4 separate regions of the Homo sapiens genome follow, and all the other regions are linked to region 1. Evidence: promoter capture Hi-C in 16 types of primary human blood cells and fetal thymus (Javierre and others, 2016). All regions are on one chromosome and are shown on one strand. The core of a region is centred on a gene start or on the middle of the fragment in contact, and the rest is flanking DNA. Distances in the headings are between cores, read along the strand shown.

Region 1 (5,186 bases), core at 1,415-3,914:
GGAAGGAATAGGTAGGATGCATGTAAGTGGTAGTGGCAGGAAAACAGAAAAGAGTTAAATCCACACATTTCTTGCAGGAAAGTCAATGCATGATGACTAAACCTCAAAAACCAAGAAGGAGCAATTATAAGGAATATCTAGAGATACAGACAAATAGTAACTAGTTAAAAGAGATGAACATGATTACTTCTCTTAAAAAGCAGGAAGTGATGGAGGGTTCTACTGTTTTTAGATATTAACCCTATGGAATTAATTGATTCTGAACAATGAGAACGTAAAACTTCAATAAAACTAAGAAGTAAAGAAAAAAGGCACTAGTGAGACTCACATCATAATATCTTACCTAACAGTGATGGATTTTACAGAAAATAGTTGCCATGTAGACTTCTGATGTGTCACAAAGGAATAACTGAGTTATAGGTAGGATGGTCACTTTCAGTTCCAGCATGGTATTGATTCTACCAGAAGTATAATGAAAATCACTCAGATTATTTGGGCTGTTTATACTGAAAACTCATGATTTAAAACACAGTGAGGCCAGGCACAGTGGCTCAGGCCTGTAATCTTGGCACTTTGGGAGGCCAAAGAGGATTGCTTGAGCCCAGGAGTTCAAGACCAGTCTGGGCAACACAGCGAGACTCTGTCTCAAAAAAATAAAATAAAATAAAAAGTGAGAAATTTGAAAAAGAAGGAAAAAGAGAGAAGCCATATTTCAGGCACAGTATTTACCAAATGCTTGATAGTTTTGGCATAGATGTCCTATCCAAAAAATTAACTATGATAGATAATTGTAAATAGGCAAGATAAGACCAAAATTTGTGACAAATTGCAACATATTGCACGATTCTTTCCCTTCACCTCTGGTATAATGATCTCAAATGCTATTCATGCCCTTGTCTATCAAGACAAGTTTAACACTACCAAAGGGTACTAGTCTCCAGTTTTGGCCCAAAAAACAAAACTCATGCTAACTCCTACCCTAGATGGTTACCACTCCTGGTGGGAAACATAAGAAACAACCAGATTCTTAAAGTCAAGCCCAGATTCCAGTCTGGCCAAAATAGCTAACGCTTTATCAGTCCTGTAAGAACCCAAAGCAGATGACAGTGAAACATCAAAATCTGTATACAGGGGGAAAGAAATTGAATAACTCGTTTCCCACTTTAACAATTAAAGGTGATCATTTCTCCCTAGAACAAATAATCACAAATGATGTGTATGACTAGAACATCTATGTTCTCAGTGTCTTTTTTTCTCTTTTTTTTTTTTCTTTTTTATGTTCTCCGTGTCTTAAAGCACTGACCTGAGTTCAAATCTCAAATCTGCTTTTCTCCTTTGGTTTCATTTTCCTCACCTGTAAACCGGTGGAGATGGGAGAGACAGGATACTTGGACTTTATAGGATTACTGCCAGGATGAAATAGTTAAGAATCCCAAACTCTTACAACCTGCTAAATACGTCAGGCATTATTCTAAGTGCAAATGGCATGTAGCATTTCAATTCATCTTGAAACTACAAATCGTATTATCCCATTTTCCAGATGAGAAAGCCGAAGAACAGATGTTAACTCGCCCAAAATCACAGGTAGTGATGCAGCTGGGATGCTAATTCAGGCTACCTGGCTCCAGAGCATATGTTCTTATCAGAGCAGGCTGAAATGAGCTAACGTTTGCTAAGCTGCCTGGACTATTCCTGAAATACAATGTGCTCAATTATACTTATTTTTCATACACAGTGTGAGAAAGTCCAGACAAAATAGGCGAGACCAAGAAATTACCAGGATCTCCACTACTCTCCCAAGCGTCTCCAGTGCTCTCCCAACAGCCAGGAGCACCCTCCCTCTCCAAGCCCCCAGAACTTCCTGTTGCGCCATATGCCAGCGGTGGAGAGGAGCCAGCGGGGACTCCTGAGGTTGCAAGTCCGGGCGGCGCCGCGTTGGGGAAGGAAGCGGACTGCGGCGGGGCGGGTGTTTACCGTAACCGGCGCTGTCATCGCTCCGGGACTCCTGCACGGGGAACACTGGGCGCACGGGGACGCGCAGGGGCGCGGAGGGACGGCCGTCTGGGCACTTCTCCAGCCGCCTCGGAAAGCCGCGACCCCCGGCTAGTCAGCGTCCGGGTCTGAGATCTGTGCCCGTGGCAGCTCAAAACGCGCCTTCTCTCCTCCGGATTCTCAGCTCAAGCCACCTCCGAACTCCTCTCCCTCCGGCCCGGAGCGGAATCAGAGCTGCCTCCTCTCCCGGGGTGTTTCCCACCGCCCCGAGCTGAACCCCCGACCCCCGCTAGGTTTCCGCTCTGACACCACCTCCGCTATGGCCGCATCCCAGCTCTTGAAACGGGGGCTGCGGGACCTGCCCTGTAGTAGCGTACACTACCTTAGATAGGATAATCATCTTTGGGTGGAGACCAGAGAACTTGAAAGCCGGTATTTCATAAATCCTAGCTATTCTAGATCCTCGTTAGATGTAGTGTCCCTGGCCCCACCCACTTCTATCTAAGGCCGGGGGCGCAGATCTAGCGAATCGCCTAAGGTCCTTGTTCCCCGCCAGTCGAGCAGCCTGAGCTTACCTGCAAGCGCTCCAAGACAGGTTGTTCTTTCATCTTTGATTTGCAGGCCCTGCTCCCAAAGCCCTGTCTGAGCTTTTAACTGTGGAGGCAGAAACTCTGGGCTCCACCTCCACACGCTGCCTTTTACAGCCCAGTGGATCTGTCACAATACCTTTCGGCTTCAGTTACCTAACTGCCTAGAAAAGAAGGTGACTCTCAGTTTCCTTCGATAAAAGAAGAATAACGAGGATCAAATGGGATGGCCACTGTCATCACAGACATCCTTTGTAGTAATGTATTGTTACTGTTGAGTCAGTGTGGGGCGTGAGGAGATCAGAGATTTAAGCTAACGCACTGCTTTTACTACCTGTGACTTATTGGGCATGTCAAGCCTCAGTTTATTTATCTATGCAATGGGAATAATAGGGACAAAAATCCAGTTCCCTCACAAGGTTACAATGAACAAAGGAAATCACTTAATGTGCTTCATGTGTAACATACAATACAAATGTTTTGTTATTTCTGGTTTTTTTTTCATTTTTTTTGTTTGTTTTGTTTTGTTTTGGTGGATTCCTCTGGATAGGCATCTTCTCTTTCTTTCTTTCTTTCTTTCTTTCTTTCTTTCTTTCTTTCTTTCTTTCTTTCTCTCTTTCTTTCTTTCTTCTTTTTTTAGAGATGGAGTCTTGCTCTGTTGCCCAGGCTGGAGTGCAGTGGCAGGATCATGGCTCACTGCATCCTTGACCTCCCAGGCTCAAGTGATCCTTCCACTTCAGGCTCCAGAGAGTAGTTGGGACTACAGGCACACACCACAGTGCCTGGCTAATTTTATTTATTTATTTATTTATTTATTTATTTATTTATTTATTTATTTTAGAAATGGGGTCTCACTATGTTGCCCAGGCTGGTCTCAAACTCTGGACTCAAGCGATCTTCATGCCTCAGCCTTCCAGAGTGCTAGGATTACAGGCGTGAGCCACCATGCCCGGCCTAGGCAGTCTTGATTAAGGTTGTGGTCAGTGATTTGGGGTGGATCCCAGGGTGTTGGCAGAGGTGGCACAAAGCACACAGGCAAAATGATGCTCACATTATTACAAGTGTAATTAACAATGCTAGTCATTCATCCCTGACAACCGACTTAAAATTAGGGACACCTACTCATTTAGTTTATTATGAATTTTTGCCTGGTGAATTCACATTTGCAGACAGTTTACAGGTTTTTTCCCCTCATTTCTCAATGTGGTTTTAATAAGCATTTCTTTGTTTATTGGAAAATTGTAATCTCTCATATGTGTATTGGCATTTTGTTGTTTTTCTTTTTGTTGTTGTTGCTGTTGTTGTTGAGCCAGGGTCTCGCTCTGTCACCGGGCTGGAGTGCAGTGGCACTATGTCGGCTCACTGCAACCTCCACCTCCTGGGCTCAAGCAATCCTCCAGCCTCAGCCCCCGCAAGTAGCTAGGACTACATGTGCAAGCCACTACACCTGGCTAATTTTTGTAATTTTTGTAGATACGGAGTTTCACCATGTTGCCCAGGCTGGTCTCGAACTTCTGAACTCAAGCAATCCACCCACTTCAGCCTCCCTAAGTGCTAGGCATTTGTTGTTCTTCTATAAACACATTTAATCTCCTTTCCTCTCCTTAACCCATCTTCTTTAAAGCGTTAATCTGTAAACAGTTAACAGGTTCTGAAAGCTCTTCTAAGGCAAGTAAATCCTTCTCGATCTCTGTCTTCCATACAATTTCTTTGTTAGGTCTCTTACAGTGACTGGGTCAGAGAGTTCTCAGAAATCTTCAGACCCACCAAGAAGAGTAGCCATTTGGAACTCAAGATTTGTAAGAAGTCTACCATCTTCTAGTTTACCATCTTTGGTAAACCTACATGTTAGGATGATCATATATTCTTTTCAGATCAAGCTTCAAGGCATTTAGAGCCTGAAATACAAGGGCAATGTGAAGTGCTTAAAGCATTGAATGTACTAGTTTACAAGCTGCCTTTGGTTCCCAAGCTGTATCAGAAACATCTGAGGCATTTGTCAAAAGTGCAGATTCCCAGGCTCCAACCACCCTACCCAGATCTCTTGTATCAGGATTTATAGGGTGGGGCCCAGGAATCTGTATCTTTCACAAGCACTTTAATCAGTTGTCAAACTTGTATATAAAACTTCTTGTCCAGGCATGGTGGCTCATGCCTGTAATCCCAGCATTTAGGGAGGCCGAGGCAGGAGAATCACTTGAACTCATGATTTCGAGACCAGCCTGGTCAACATGGCAAAACCCCATCTGTACAAAAAAAAAAAACAAAAATTAGCCACGCGTGGTGGCTTACACTTGTGGTGCCAGCTACTTGGATGGCTGAGGTGAGAGGATTGCTTGAGCCCAGGAGGTCGGGGCTGCAGTGAGCTATGATGGCACCACTGCACTCCAGACTGGGCAACAGAGTAAGACCATATCTCAAAAAATAAATAAATAAAAAGAAAACTATTCTGGGCACAAACATACCTATGCCCAGGGTAGCTGTGAAAATTAAATTTTAAAATATTCATTAGTAGTCTAGTGTGGTTTGATTCAGGCCAACAAATATTTCCTGAACATAGACTGTTTGTCAGGCATCATGCTGGGCACCAGGAAAACAAAGATGAAT
Region 2 (2,745 bases), core at 246-2,745, 200 kb after region 1:
AAAGATGGGGCACAGCTAGAGTTGGGTTCTGCATTGCATTAGATGTGGAATCTGATGAGAAATTTCCATTTTAAGTGCATATGTATGAGGTAGCTTTCTAAACTCAGGTGCAAATCAGGACCTTAAGTATCTAACAGTGCAGAGTTGTTCTTTGATAGCTAAACAATATTTTATTTATCTTATTTTTTTCTGATCACCTGCTGCCAGTTGAAATACGTTAAAGAATGCCCTTTTTAAAAATCTCTTCATGCGTATTAAATGCTGTCTATATTGCAAATGGAGGGACATTGACAGGTGTGTGTGTGTGTGTGTGTGTGTGTGTGTGTGTGTACACAGTAATGTATACATGTGGGTTCATTCACACTTGGGGGTTTAAGGGTCATCCTGTTACTAATTGTGGATACATTCCCAGGAACCTCCTTTCTCCTTCACATCAGAAAGCTTATGGTTAAACATGACAGGTGTTTAGAGGGAACTTTGCATTTTATTTTATTTTAATTTGTTTTATCTGGTCCTTGATTCAGGATAAAGGGAATTTTGAATCAACATTAATTTACAAATGAGATCCAGACACAAAGTTACCATAGAAATGGGTTTGCCAGTTTAGTAATTTACAGTGAGAAACATTACTGCCAATCAGAGTTGAAACTTTGTGTGGGCTAGCTTAGTTGAAGAAAAAAAAAAAGCGATGGCCAGGAGCAGTGGGCCATGCCTGTAATCCTAGCACTTTATGAGGCTGAGGTGGGAGGATTGCTTGAGGCTAGGAGTTTGAGACTAGCCTGGGCAACATAGCAAGACCCCGTCTCAACAGAGTACAAAAAACAAAAACAGAAATGTCCTATCGTAGTACTGTCCCACATTTACTGTGTGTTAGGCAATGGTATAGTCACTTTACACGTGTTAACACATTTGCTGCTCTCAACAATCTTATGAGATCAGTACCATTATATTGTTCCTGTTGCACAGATGGGGAAATAAAGATGCGCAGAAATGTTATTTAACTTGTCTAAAGTCAACAGTTAGAGTGGGGGATGTAGCAGGCAGTATTAAAACCCAGGTAGTCTGGCTTTGAAGTCTGCACTTTTTTTTTTTTTTTTTTTTTTGAGACAGACTCTCGCTCTGTTGCCCAGGCTGGAGTGCAGTGGCGCGATCTCGGCTCACTGCAACCTCCGCCTCTCGGGATCAAGCAATTCTCTGCCTCAGCCTCCCGAGCAGCTGGGATTACAGGCAGCCCGCCACCATGCCCGGCTAATTTTTTTTTTGTATTTTTAGTAGAGACAGGATCCAGGCTGGTCTTGAACTCCTGACCTTGTGATCCACCCTCCTTCGCTTCCCAAAGTGTGGGATCACTGTGCCTGGCCAAAGTCTGCACTCTTAACCATTTGCTATTCTGCCTTAAGTCATAGTGCTCCATTCACACTGGCGGTCAAATGTGTATTTTAGAGCTGGTGGTCAGGAAGTCGAAAGGGAGGGGCCTCTGGTCTACAGACTTTCTTGTCACAAATGCACATAAAGGTCAGCCCCTGGTTGACAGCAAGGAGAGTGGTGTGGAGCTTTACTTTCTTGTCCTGCAGGCAAGCTGCATGGATAAAAATCTCCAAAGACAGCATGGGATTGGGGGCTTTGGGGTTGTATTTAATTTTTTGGTTTGTTTAAACCTTGCCTCATTCCAAAAGGACTTCTAAAAATACACATGATCTGAGAGAGAGGAAAAAGTAAAGATAAAGCATGGTCATCTAGAGGAAGGGAAGAATAGTAAGATGAAACAAGAGGAAAAGCTAGCTTACAGACAGACCTGCATGTGTAGTAAGGTCACTGTAGATTTGGCTCTCAGCTGCAAGCAGAGAGAAAAATCTCAAGATTCATAGTGCTCATAAAATTAAAATGTGTCACTTACTCTGAAAAGTAGTTATTTTAATGGCATTGAGATCTGAGACAGATTTTCCTGTGGGTTCTCTTAAAGTATTGGAGTGGCCTGGATATCTCTAGCAGAAATACAAGACAGAACATCCTAGCCATGTTTCTTACAGCTTCTTTCAGAGCAAGATTTGGGCAAAACAGCATGGCTCAATTCAGTAGACAATACTAAAAGGAAAGGAGCTAGGTGAGTAAGGACAAAGGACTTGCTGGAAGATATTAAAAACAAGGGACATTAAGCTATAATGCAGGCTAATAGCATCTTTCTGGCTGATCAGCACATCCCCAACAGGGGGCCGATTTGTGGAAGGAGGCTGCCCAGGGAAGTCCCGGGCAGATGCTAGTGGGAGACCCTGGCCATTTTTGTACCATCTGGAGGATAGATCAGGGTTACCTTGTTTGGGTTTTTGGCCATATCCAGAATTCATTTGCTAAACAAATGTTTCTTAATAAATGTAGCTCATATATTAGGCCCTGTGCTAGACACTGGGGTTCCCAGGAACAATAATCTATGGTGTCATTCACGAGGGTCCTGAGTCTAATGGGGAAGACGTATGTATCTACAGATATTACCTAGAGTATCCCATATTTACAAGTGGATGGCTGATCTCATTCATTTTGTTTTTTTTAAAAAAGCTTGTAAGTAAAAATATAATTTTTTTATTTTTAGAAAATTTAGAAAAAGGTAAACAATAAATATATAACTAAAATATAGGAATCATCCCTGTCATCTACTGATAATCACTATTTACATTTGGTTGAATATTCTTTCAGGTTTCTTTCTTCTTCACATCCATTTCATTTCAAAAAAGAAAATAAAAACAATTA
Region 3 (5,186 bases), core at 2,687-5,186, 180 kb after region 1:
TGCTTTCTCTTTGGGAAATTTTTGATTTTTTAATTTTTAGAAATAGGGCTGTCTGTCTCCCAGGGTGGAGTGCAATGGCACATTCATGGCTCACTGCAGCCTTGACTTCCTGGGCTAAAGCCATCCTCCCACCTCAATACCCTGAGTAGCTGAGATTATAGGCACGTGCCACTATGCCCAGCTAATTTTTTATTTTTATTTTTTTGAGACAGAGTCTCACTCTGTCACCAGACTGGAGTGCAGTGGCGTGCAATCTTAGCTCACTGCAATGTCTGCCCCCGGAGTTCAAGAGATTCCCCTGCCTCAGCCTCCCGGGTAGCTGGGACTGCAGGCGCGCACCACCACACCTGGCTAATTTTTTGTATTTTAGTAGAGACGGGGTTTCACCATGTTGGCCAGGATGGTCTGGATCTCCTGACCATCATGATCTGTCTGCCTCGGCCTCCCAAAGTGCTGGGATTACAGATGTGAGCCACTGTGCTTGGTAGCTAATTTTTAAAAAATTTTAATTTTTGTAGAAATGGAGTCCCTCTCACTATGTTGCTCAGGCTGGTCTTGAACTCCTGGCCCCAAGCAATCCTCCCAATTTAGCCTCCCAAAGTGCTGGGATTATAAACGTGAGCCATTGCAACTGGCCAGAGAAATTTTTAAAATCAGAAGGTGTTAGGTGGGGTATTCAATTACAAGATGGGTTATGTGATGTAGGCCTGGCCAATCAGAGTATGCCATCTCCCTGGCCATAGTGATTGGTTTGGCAAGTCATGTGATCCAGCAGGACCAATCATCTGGGCTACAACAGAACATTGCTTTTTAGAAAACTATTTAAAATAAAGAATTTCAAATTTATGCAAAAGAAGTGAGAATAAATATGAACCTCCTTGTACTCAATATCCAGCTCCAACATTTATCAACTCGTTGTCAAATCTTGAAAAAGATATCTTTTTACCCTGGGACTGATGGACCTAGGAGGATGTTGTTGTCAACAGACATCAGGTCAGTGGAGAGCCTGACTTCAAAATAAACCCTAAATAGAAAGTAGAATAGAAGCAGAGTCCTGAGGACCTTATTTGAGTTCCTTAACCCATTAATGTTGGAGGTTGCAAATTATTTTTGTGAAAAACGAGACCTTGGTGATGACCTTCAGCAGTAGGATATAAATAACTCCTACAAGCTTAGAGTTCCAACAATGGAACACTAGGCATAAATGAGTTAATCCAGCTGAGCCTGAAGCCACCATTACCCCTGTACTGTCTTTCTGCTGTAGCCATATTTAGGCAGATCCCTGTCACTTGCAAACAGTGCCGTCCAATATGAAAACCTTAAACAAACACTTCATAATACTTTTTAAAATCTTTTGTTTATCTTTGAGGTATTTGGAAAGTAGAAATTTTACAGAAAGTCTTTAAGGGAATAAAAGAAAAGGGGAGCTCTGGACATACTAAAAAAAATCATCAGCATTTTAATTATACTGTGCCCAAAGGATACTTCCAGTCCCATTTGGTACAGCCATCTACTAAAAGTTTTAAAGTAAATCACATAAATAGCATTAAGAGATGTAACAAAGGGTACATGGTTTTACCCCTAAAAACAGACAAAATAATTGAGTCTCCAAACCCCCCCCCAGAATTTCTGATTCTGAATTATCCTCAAAGCAAAGAATGGATGAGCACAATCACTCCTACACTAGCATTCTGGTATTCCATTCTTTCATATGTAATGAATGATTTTCCTGGCTGTTTCTCCTCTACCATCCACTTTGTTAGCACAATACTTACACTTTTGCTTTGCTAGTTCTTGTATTAGATCTTCATATACTTGCAAAAAGAGGTCCTCTTCAGATTTTGTTCCATCCAGGTACACTACGAAGGGGAAAAGAGAGCAGTTCAAATGCTAACAGGCTTATTAATATACAATGTTTACTTTGACACCCAACATCTCTTGTAAATGCCAATAGGTTTAACCAAGGCACCCAGGACCATAACTTAAAAGGAAATTAATAGTGATTAAAGAAAGAAATAGATGCTAGCCAGCTATAATAGGTCAAAAATATTGGATTGTTACAGATAAATCCACACTGGCTTATGTGAAAATTATTTAATTAAAAGAGAAGAGAAAGAAAGAAGAAAGGAGGAAAGAAACAGAAGAAAGAAAGTGGTGTTGTGCATACGGCACTTTAGGTGCACTGAAGGTGTTCACCCAAAAGGGTCACTTAAGGAGTAATTCTTCAACATACTTATACATCAGGATCACCTGGGAAGCTTCTTAAACAATGCAGTGGTCTGGGATCTGCAACATATGTACAAACTCAGAATTCACCAGGCTCAGAAAATATGTATTGTGTGTGTGTGTATGTTTGTGTGTGTGTGTGTGTGTTTTCTGCTATCAGAGAAAAGACGTATTTTTAATAAAACTGGCATAAGCAGCTTTGGAGAAAAAGTAGAAGTTGTCTAGGTTAAAGGAAGGAAAGGGCCTTCTGGTCAGAAAACAGCATGAGTAGGGAGAGGCAAGAGCACTGATGCACCCTTTGGAATGGCTAGAATATGGGGAAGCTCCAGGAACAGCGTGAGATGAGATTTTAGAGCAAGGGTGTACCTCAGTACCTCAGTCGTTAGAGGCCTTGATGTCTGGCTGTTTGGATTGTATCTCAAAGATCTGGAGATGACTCAAGGTATTCAGCAGAGCAGGAGCCTGATTAGATTTGCATTTTAGGTAAAAGGGAGAGAAGGGAAGCAAGAGGATGTTCTTGCAACCAATGGTCCAAGTTGGACGTGGTGCAGCCAGAATCTCAGCATTGGCCCTGGGGGTACACTCTGTGTGCATTCCACATGGCTCTGACATAGCTGCCTATCCTGGAGGCCAACAGGCTTCTCACAACACAGACAAGTCCCCTTTATTGTGAAAAGCATACATCAGTTCTAACTCCTTTGCCTTATCCAACAGCCTTCTGCCATCTTCCCTGCATTGAGTGCCCTATTCCAGTGATCTGTTCTTAGCTCAAGCCCACAGATCCGGATGCTTACCTCCAAATTGCTACATATGTCTCCCAGGCACCTCAACCTCATTATGTGCAAAAGAGACATGCATTCCTCCCTTACAGGTCTGCAATGCCTTCACTTTTTTCTAACATCTGTCAGTTGCTGAGGCATCTGTCATCTTCCCGCCCCCTCCATAGCTGTTCTATCACCCAGTTCTACTGAGTGCGGGCGTCCAACATCACACCCTATAAATCTATCCTCCTCCATTCTCCACACAGCCAGAGGGGTCTTAACTAAAACAAGAATTTTTATCAATCATGCCCTTGTTTAAAACTTCTCTCTAGAGAGCTTCTTACTTCTCTGAGAACAATGATCAAAGTCCTTACCTAGATTATTGGCCTTATAGGGTCTGGACCCTGCCTGTATCACTAGCATCAATCCACTCCCCTGGTTTTCTTTACTAGAAAGCTTTCTCAACACCAGCTTTCTTTCAGGGGTTTCTCATTCCTTCCTGTCCCCTGGCCCTTTCGTGTGCCACACCCACTTTCTGGGGTAATCTTCTATCTCCCCAACCCATCTCCTTTGTTCAGTTAAACTCATTGAAGTTTGGTTAAATGTGACTTCCTCAAGGAAGCCTTTCCTGACTACCGGGATCTCGGCAGTCCCCTAGAACTTGGTGTCGCAGAACTTACAGCAGCTGGAAAGGACAGGCTTGGGCCGCTGGTATCTCTAGCACCTGTTTCCATGATAGAATGTTACCTGCATAAGAGCAGGGGCTGGGTCTGCCTCATTCCCCTCACCATCTCCAGGGCAGCACTGGAAGGCATTCATTCAATACTGGTTGAATGAATAACCATCCAGAAGCTGACAAGAGCCACAGAGAGAAACAGAAACCAGGAGAACCAGCTATGGAAAAGGAGAAGCCCAGAGTGTTCTTGCTTAAGCATCCCTTTATACTTTTCTATGAGTCCTTTCTTTTCTATACTTTGAGGCAAATGACAAGTAAAAGGCCTTGAACAGAAGGAGAAAAGGCACTTACCAACTTCCCATGTGATGTCCTGCATTTCTTGTCTGTACTTTAGATACATGGGCCACACATGGCCATCAAAGTATCCCGGAGAGTCTGGAGGCTGATAGACCCTTGTACTATCAAAACACGTAGGAAACTTTATGTTGACAGAAACACACAATTGATAAAGTAAAATATGAATGGTCAGGATAATGGGGAAATCACTCAGAGGCTGAATCTAAACAGGATTAGGACTACATGTACTACATGTTTTAACTCAATGGCAGTTAGAACGACAGTAACATGGATTTAGTTCTTTGATATTAAAATTAACTTTGTAATCCACTGACTATCATTCTTAATTATTCTTTTTCCTTCTAGTGCTTTATAAGAGAACTAAGAGACAAATAGTGTAAATAACAATGGAGAGACCACTATGTTGGATTAAGCTTTGAACTAATTGGTGTTCTTTGTAGCTGTGGCAGAACAGGCTCACTTACATTAAAATCCTAATCACCATGGGCTTGCTTTGTTTGAGGATTTAGGAGAAATGAGCCGAAAGCTTGATATAAGGCCCTTTTCTTAGAAAGTAATTTGCATTACTCCATGCGGATGACCATTTATGGAAAAGAGTTTTGCTCCTTTTGTAAAAGAGTTAAGGCTTCCTGTCTCTGAAAAATGACGTATACGCATTGCTCAATAATGTTGCTGTCCTCATTTTTCTTCTACATTTTTTGTTTTGAATTACAACTCACAAAGATGGCTTCAAAACTTACCTCCTCCTCCTTTTACATTCTTCATATGGAATAGTCAGGAAATAGCTTCTATTCCATATAGTGTCAAGGGGCCTAAAATAACAGCATACTTAGTTCACAAGGGTTTTTATCCCCCCATTCACTCAGAGACAATATTAGGGTGGAGATGCTTACTTATAATTAAAAAGAAGAAAACCTTCGATGATTAAAATGGGAATTTCCTCAGCACTTTCCTGGTCTGTTGATACCACAGAGTGTCTTGCGCTTTCCATCCAGCAGGAAATGGCTGACATCATTTTTTCCATGTTAAGTGCTTCAAGCACTTCAAACAAACACACAAAAATATGCAATCAATATAGCACAAAATTTTGTGATGTGACTTTTTGTGATGAGTATATCCAGGATTCTGTAAATATATACACCACCATTTTATTTCCCTTCAAAACT
Region 4 (5,186 bases), core at 1,608-4,107, 140 kb after region 1:
CCCAGCTGATTTTTGTATTTTTAGTAGAGACGGGGTTTCACCATACTGTCCAGGATGGTCTCGATCTCTTGACCTCGTGATCTGCCTGCCTCCGCCTTCCAAAGTGCTGGGATTATAGGCGTGAGCCACCGCACCCAGCCTTCATTTTCATTTTCAATTTCACTTTCATTTTCAATATCTTTGTCATTTGGTTTCTTAAATCTTCATTCATCCAAACAATTTTCTTATTTTTACCCTCTGCCAAATTATTCCAACTGCCAAACAGTAATGAACTTCAGAAGAAGCTCCTGACAAACAACCAAAAACCTGGCTGGTCGCGTTTTTACAAGCTTGTGTTTGGTGGCTTGGTGTGGGGGGCCCTTAGGGATAAGGTGAAGAGATCAAGTTGTCAGAAGCTCCACTGACATGCCCCTCTGGGGAGAGTATAATAATGAGCTTTGAAGTCAGAAAGATCAGGGATGAAATCCAGGTTATGACACCTATTTGCCACATGACACCAGGCAAATTACCGCCTTCCTTTGTCCAACTCTCTCATATACAGAAGCAAGATAAGAATGAACAATGATGATGATCATGGAAGCTGCCATTTGAGATTTAATAAATACCAGGGACTAAACCAAGTCAGTTAATACGGATTATTCTGAAAGATCTTCATAATTAGGTAGGTAGCATTACCTTCCTCTGCCTAGCAGACAGGGTTTCATTGGAAAAATAACGTACTCAAAAGATTTAGCCCAACAGCTGAAAACACAGCAAGCGCTCAAAATATATATACTATATATATACCTACTGTTCAATATACTATATAGAGTATATATACATAGTATATACATAGTATATATGTATATATACATAGTATATACATAGTATATATACTACTATATACATACCATATATATTATATATAGTATATATACTACTATACATACCATATATATTATATACATAGTATATATCTACTATATACAGTATATATACTATATACATACTATATATAGTATAAATAGTATATATAATATAAATAGTATATATAGGATAAATATATATACTATATATATATATCTACTGTTCAAAAAAGGAGTAGGTATATCTCATTTATATTACTAAAATGTTCAAAGCATGAACAATGTAGAAATTAGAAGTACTCAGGAAAGAAGGCCTAATAATTCCTCTTCTAGAGGGAACCACTTCTAACCTTTTGGCACATTTCCGTTTTGCTTAACACAAAGTTGCAGTGGCTCATGCCAGTAATCCCAGTATTTTGGGAGGCCAAGGTGGGAAGCCTGTTTGAGGCCAGGTGTTCAAAACCGGCCTGGGCAATATAGCAAGACCATCCTCTCTACAAAAAAATAAAAAAACAAAATGAGCCAGGCGTGGTGGTGCATGCCTGTAGTCTCACCTACTTGGGAGGCTGAGGTAGGAGAATTGCTTTAGCCCAGAAAGTCAAGGGGGCAGCGAGCTATGATTGTGTCACTGCACTACAGGCTGCGTAACAGAGCAAAAACCCTGTCTCCAAAAAAGAGAAGAAAAAAAAAAGTCATCTAGCATCTTACTTTTTTTAAGCTGAATACTGACAAATTATAATTGTCTATATTTGTGGGGTACAAAGTGGATGTTCATCATTCCATCTTAGGTAACCATCAGTGACTTAGCTATTTCCCAACTACTGGGCATTTAGACACTCACTTGTTTTTGTGATGAACATTTTGTGTTCAAAATCTGTCTATAATTTAGGAAAAAAATTAGCATAAACTCTCAAAACCAGAATTACCAGGTGAGAAGGAATACTTTTTTTTTTTTTTTTTTTTTTTTTTTGGAGATGGAGTCTCACTCTGTCACCTAGGCTGGAGTACAGTGGCATGATCTCAGCTCACTGCCAGCTCTGCCTCCCAGCTTCAAGCGCTTCTTCTGGTTCAGTCTCCCAAGTAGCTGGGACTACAGGTGCACACCACCATGCCCGGCTAATTTTTATATTTTTAGTAGAGATGGGGTTTCACCATGTTGGTCAGGCTGATCTTGAACTCCTGACCTGAAGTGATCTGCCAACCTTGGTCTCCAAAAATATTGGGATTATAGGCGTGAGCCCCTACACCTGGCCAGGAGTTAGTATTTTTAAGGCTCTTGATATAAAATGATGTGCAAAAAGACTCCATAAATTTACATTCCTAACAGCAGAGTATGACATTAAAGGAACTAAAATGGCCACATCAAGTTAGGCAAACAGCAGAGCTTCAACAGTTGAACAGCCTCACAGAGCTTTCTTCCTAGTGTTTACTCCCGGGCTCTGGATGCCCCACAACTTCCCTCTCACCATACTCAAAACTCATATCCAAAGTGAACTTAGCACATGCCCCACAAAAACCTGCCCTCCTTCCTTCATGGCTAAGATTAACAAATGCACCCAAGTTAGAAATTAAAGGAGTCATCAGCCGGGCATGGTGGCTCACGCCTGTAATCCCAGCACTTTGAGAGGCTGAGGTGGGCAGATCACTTCAGGTCAGGAGTTCGAGATCAAGAACATCCTGGCTAACACAGTGAAACCCTGTCTCTACTAAAAATACAAAAAATTAGCCAGGCATGGTGGCATGCGCCTGTAATCCCAGCTACTTGGGAGGCTGAGGCAGGAGAATCGCTTGAACCTGGGAGGCAGAGGTTGCAGTGAGTTGAGATTGTGCCACTGCACTCCAGCCTGGGTGACAGAGCAAGACTCAAAAAAAAAAAAAAAAAAGAAAAAGAAATTAAGGAGTCATCCTAAATGCCTCTTCTCCTAGTCCCACAATCAATAAACCCAGGATACTTTTCAATTCTACTTCCTAACTCCTCCCCTGCCCTTCCTGCCCCACCTCTAATCAGAAGAATTATTCTAAAACACAAGTGTCATCTTGGTCATTATTCAATATCTCCGTATTTCAGCATATGTAAAAAGCAATAAATGTTCAGTTATATTCCCACGGGTGCCACTTTTGGTTTTCCATGGAGACTACTTATCACCAAGTAATATCAAGGTTGCAAGGGTGAGTTGAGATAAGTTATAGATTGGTTACAAGAGCTGTCAATTTTTGATACAGAAGTAACTACACAGAGCAGGATGAGATCCTTAAACCCCTGGTTACTTAATGGTGTGCAAAGCTGCCATAACATACATCCACCAGTGACTCTTAAAATAGGTGGGATCTTACTAAAGTTGAGAATATAGTCCAATCCTTATTATACCCTTATAACTGGGGCTAACTTCACTATCCTGCACATGCTTACGCTATCAGAATTGCTTTAAGGCAGGGGCCCATTGGCTACCTGGTTTTTGTACAGTCTTATTGGTACAAAGCCACACTATTTGATTACACAAAGCCTAAGGCTCCTTCCATTCAAGGGCAGAGTTGATGAGTTGTAACAAGAGACCACTTGGCCTTCAGAGCTTAAAATATTTACTGCCTGGCCCTTTTAAGAAACTCTGCCAAACCTGCTTTGAAGGAGTATTTTACAAAAATCAGACTCTCCTTGGTTCTGAACTAAGTCAGCATCAGGAGGTGACATCCTCTTGCTGATAAGAGGAGAAAGTAAACTTAGTAGCCATTTTTCCCCAATGGTGGTATCTCTACCTCTAACTCTCTCTAGAAACCTGGTGTCAGCAGTGACCTCAACTCTGATTTAGTCACCTGTCATCAGGGTGAGCCCACACCAGGTCTGATCTAAAGGCCATGGTCACAGGCCCATTCCTCTGCACCTAGTTGAACTACTCTAGGAAATCCAAATAGAAAAAACATAACTTGTCAGAAACAAAGCCTGGCCTGTCTTGATTCATTTTAAATCTTTATTAAATACCTAACATTAAATTTGTGTTACTAGTATAACTCCTCATTAATGCACAGTAAAATTTTAGGTAACGATTTTGGATTTTAGGTCAGATTCTACCACAACTGGATTGTGTAACCCTGAGCAAGTTGCTTACCGCTTTGTGTCTATCCACATCCTCACCTGTAAAAATCAGTTCTAAATCTCAATATTAAAAAATCTCACCCCGTTATTTCTAAAAGTAAGAAGTTTCTGAAAAGACTTTCAGCTTTTCAACTCTAGTGTTTTCTATGTGCTGAGGTGCTTCATTCGTAACAAGACTGGGTTATAAAACTAACATTTTTGCTATTCAATACAAATGAGCTATATCCATTTTTACCTTAATGAGAATGTCATCTAAGCAAAATCTGTGGGAATCACAAAATTGAAACCCATTAGAAAGAGAAAATATTAATCAAAAGACATTCCTTGCTTTATGACCTTTTATCTAAATCTCCTACGTATTAACTAAAAGACATTTTGCAGTAAAATTGAACCCTGCAAAATCTGGACGTACAGCTGACCCTTGAACAATACTTGGGTTGGGGCACCAACCCCCTGTGCAGTCGAAAACCCACACCTAACTTTGATTCACCAAAAACTTAACTACTAATAGCCTACTACTGACCGAAAGCCGTACCAATAACATAAACAACTGACAGATATGTTGTATGTTAATATATTACGTACTATATTCTTACAATAAAGCTAAGAAAATATTAAGAAAGTCGTAGGAAAGGGAAAATACATTTACACTACTGCACTGCATTTATCAATACTATAAGTTTACATAATTTGATTACAAGATGAATCCTCTGTCTGAAATGGGGTTGGGGGGCAACCTCCAACTGCAGACCTCTATCTACAGTACATATCAAACAAATCAACTTTTTCTTGTAATGTCTTTTTTCTCTGCTTCTTGGGAGCACCTGCAGCATCACCAGTGGCACGTCATATGGGACCCATGGTGTTATTTAAGGTTTATGGTATTGCATTAAATTTGATGAAATCTGTTTACTGCTATATGCAATTTACTTGACAGACAAAAGCAGAGTGATTATTTTAAGAAGATACTGGTAACATCTGAGCTTACTGCAAAAGCAACAGGAAGTGGCTACAAAATTATTACAGTAGTACAGTATCTACTACAGATAATTTTATGCAACTAAGATTTAATGCTACATCTTTGCTTGTTTACATTTATCTCAATTGCAAATAGCTCCATGTAAGATCTGTGTTTGTGTAAGTTTTGATAAATTTTAACTTTTTATAATAGATTTGTGTATATTTTATGGTAGTAAATGATAAACTAGTATCTACACATATGCATTCATGGCATAATTTTTTCTTAATTT

What was found. Contacts are between HindIII fragments. The CHiCAGO score rates a contact against its expected background, and 5 or more counts as called.
Region 2: a contact is called between a fragment that was not itself captured here and the fragment with the promoter of TRPM6 in region 1, in 1 of 17 cell types (neutrophils). The highest score is 5.0, in neutrophils.
Region 3: a contact is called between a fragment that was not itself captured here and the fragment with the promoter of TRPM6 in region 1, in 2 of 17 cell types (neutrophils and total B cells). The highest score is 6.4, in neutrophils.
Region 4: a contact is called between a fragment that was not itself captured here and the fragment with the promoter of TRPM6 in region 1, in 1 of 17 cell types (neutrophils). The highest score is 6.1, in neutrophils.

Annotation. Positions count from the first base shown.
Region 1 is chr9:74,885,257-74,890,442 of GRCh38, forward strand. It overlaps TRPM6 (transient receptor potential cation channel subfamily M member 6), which reads right to left and starts at 2,665. Exons shown (of 39, transcript NM_017662.5): 1 at 2,568-2,665. The coding sequence starts at 2,600. RefSeq lists an enhancer at 1,757-2,051. The HindIII fragment of the contact is 4,553 bases long and covers 1-4,457 here.
Region 2 is chr9:75,090,001-75,092,745 of GRCh38, forward strand. The region is part of intron 1 of OSTF1 (osteoclast stimulating factor 1); the gene reads left to right. Among named protein-coding and RNA genes, the nearest start is that of OSTF1, 2.9 kb to the left of the region's middle. The HindIII fragment of the contact is 2,112 bases long and covers 440-2,551 here.
Region 3 is chr9:75,064,982-75,070,167 of GRCh38, forward strand. It overlaps NMRK1 (nicotinamide riboside kinase 1), which reads right to left. Exons shown (of 9, transcript NM_017881.3): 5 at 4,914-5,061; 6 at 4,761-4,832; 7 at 4,015-4,121; 8 at 1,776-1,859. Among named protein-coding and RNA genes, the nearest start is that of NMRK1, 21 kb to the right of the region's middle. The HindIII fragment of the contact is 990 bases long and covers 3,442-4,431 here.
Region 4 is chr9:75,020,426-75,025,611 of GRCh38, forward strand. The region is part of intron 1 of CARNMT1 (carnosine N-methyltransferase 1); the gene reads right to left. Among named protein-coding and RNA genes, the nearest start is that of CARNMT1, 5.3 kb to the right of the region's middle. RefSeq lists an enhancer at 3,657-3,706. The HindIII fragment of the contact is 5,061 bases long and covers 328-5,186 here.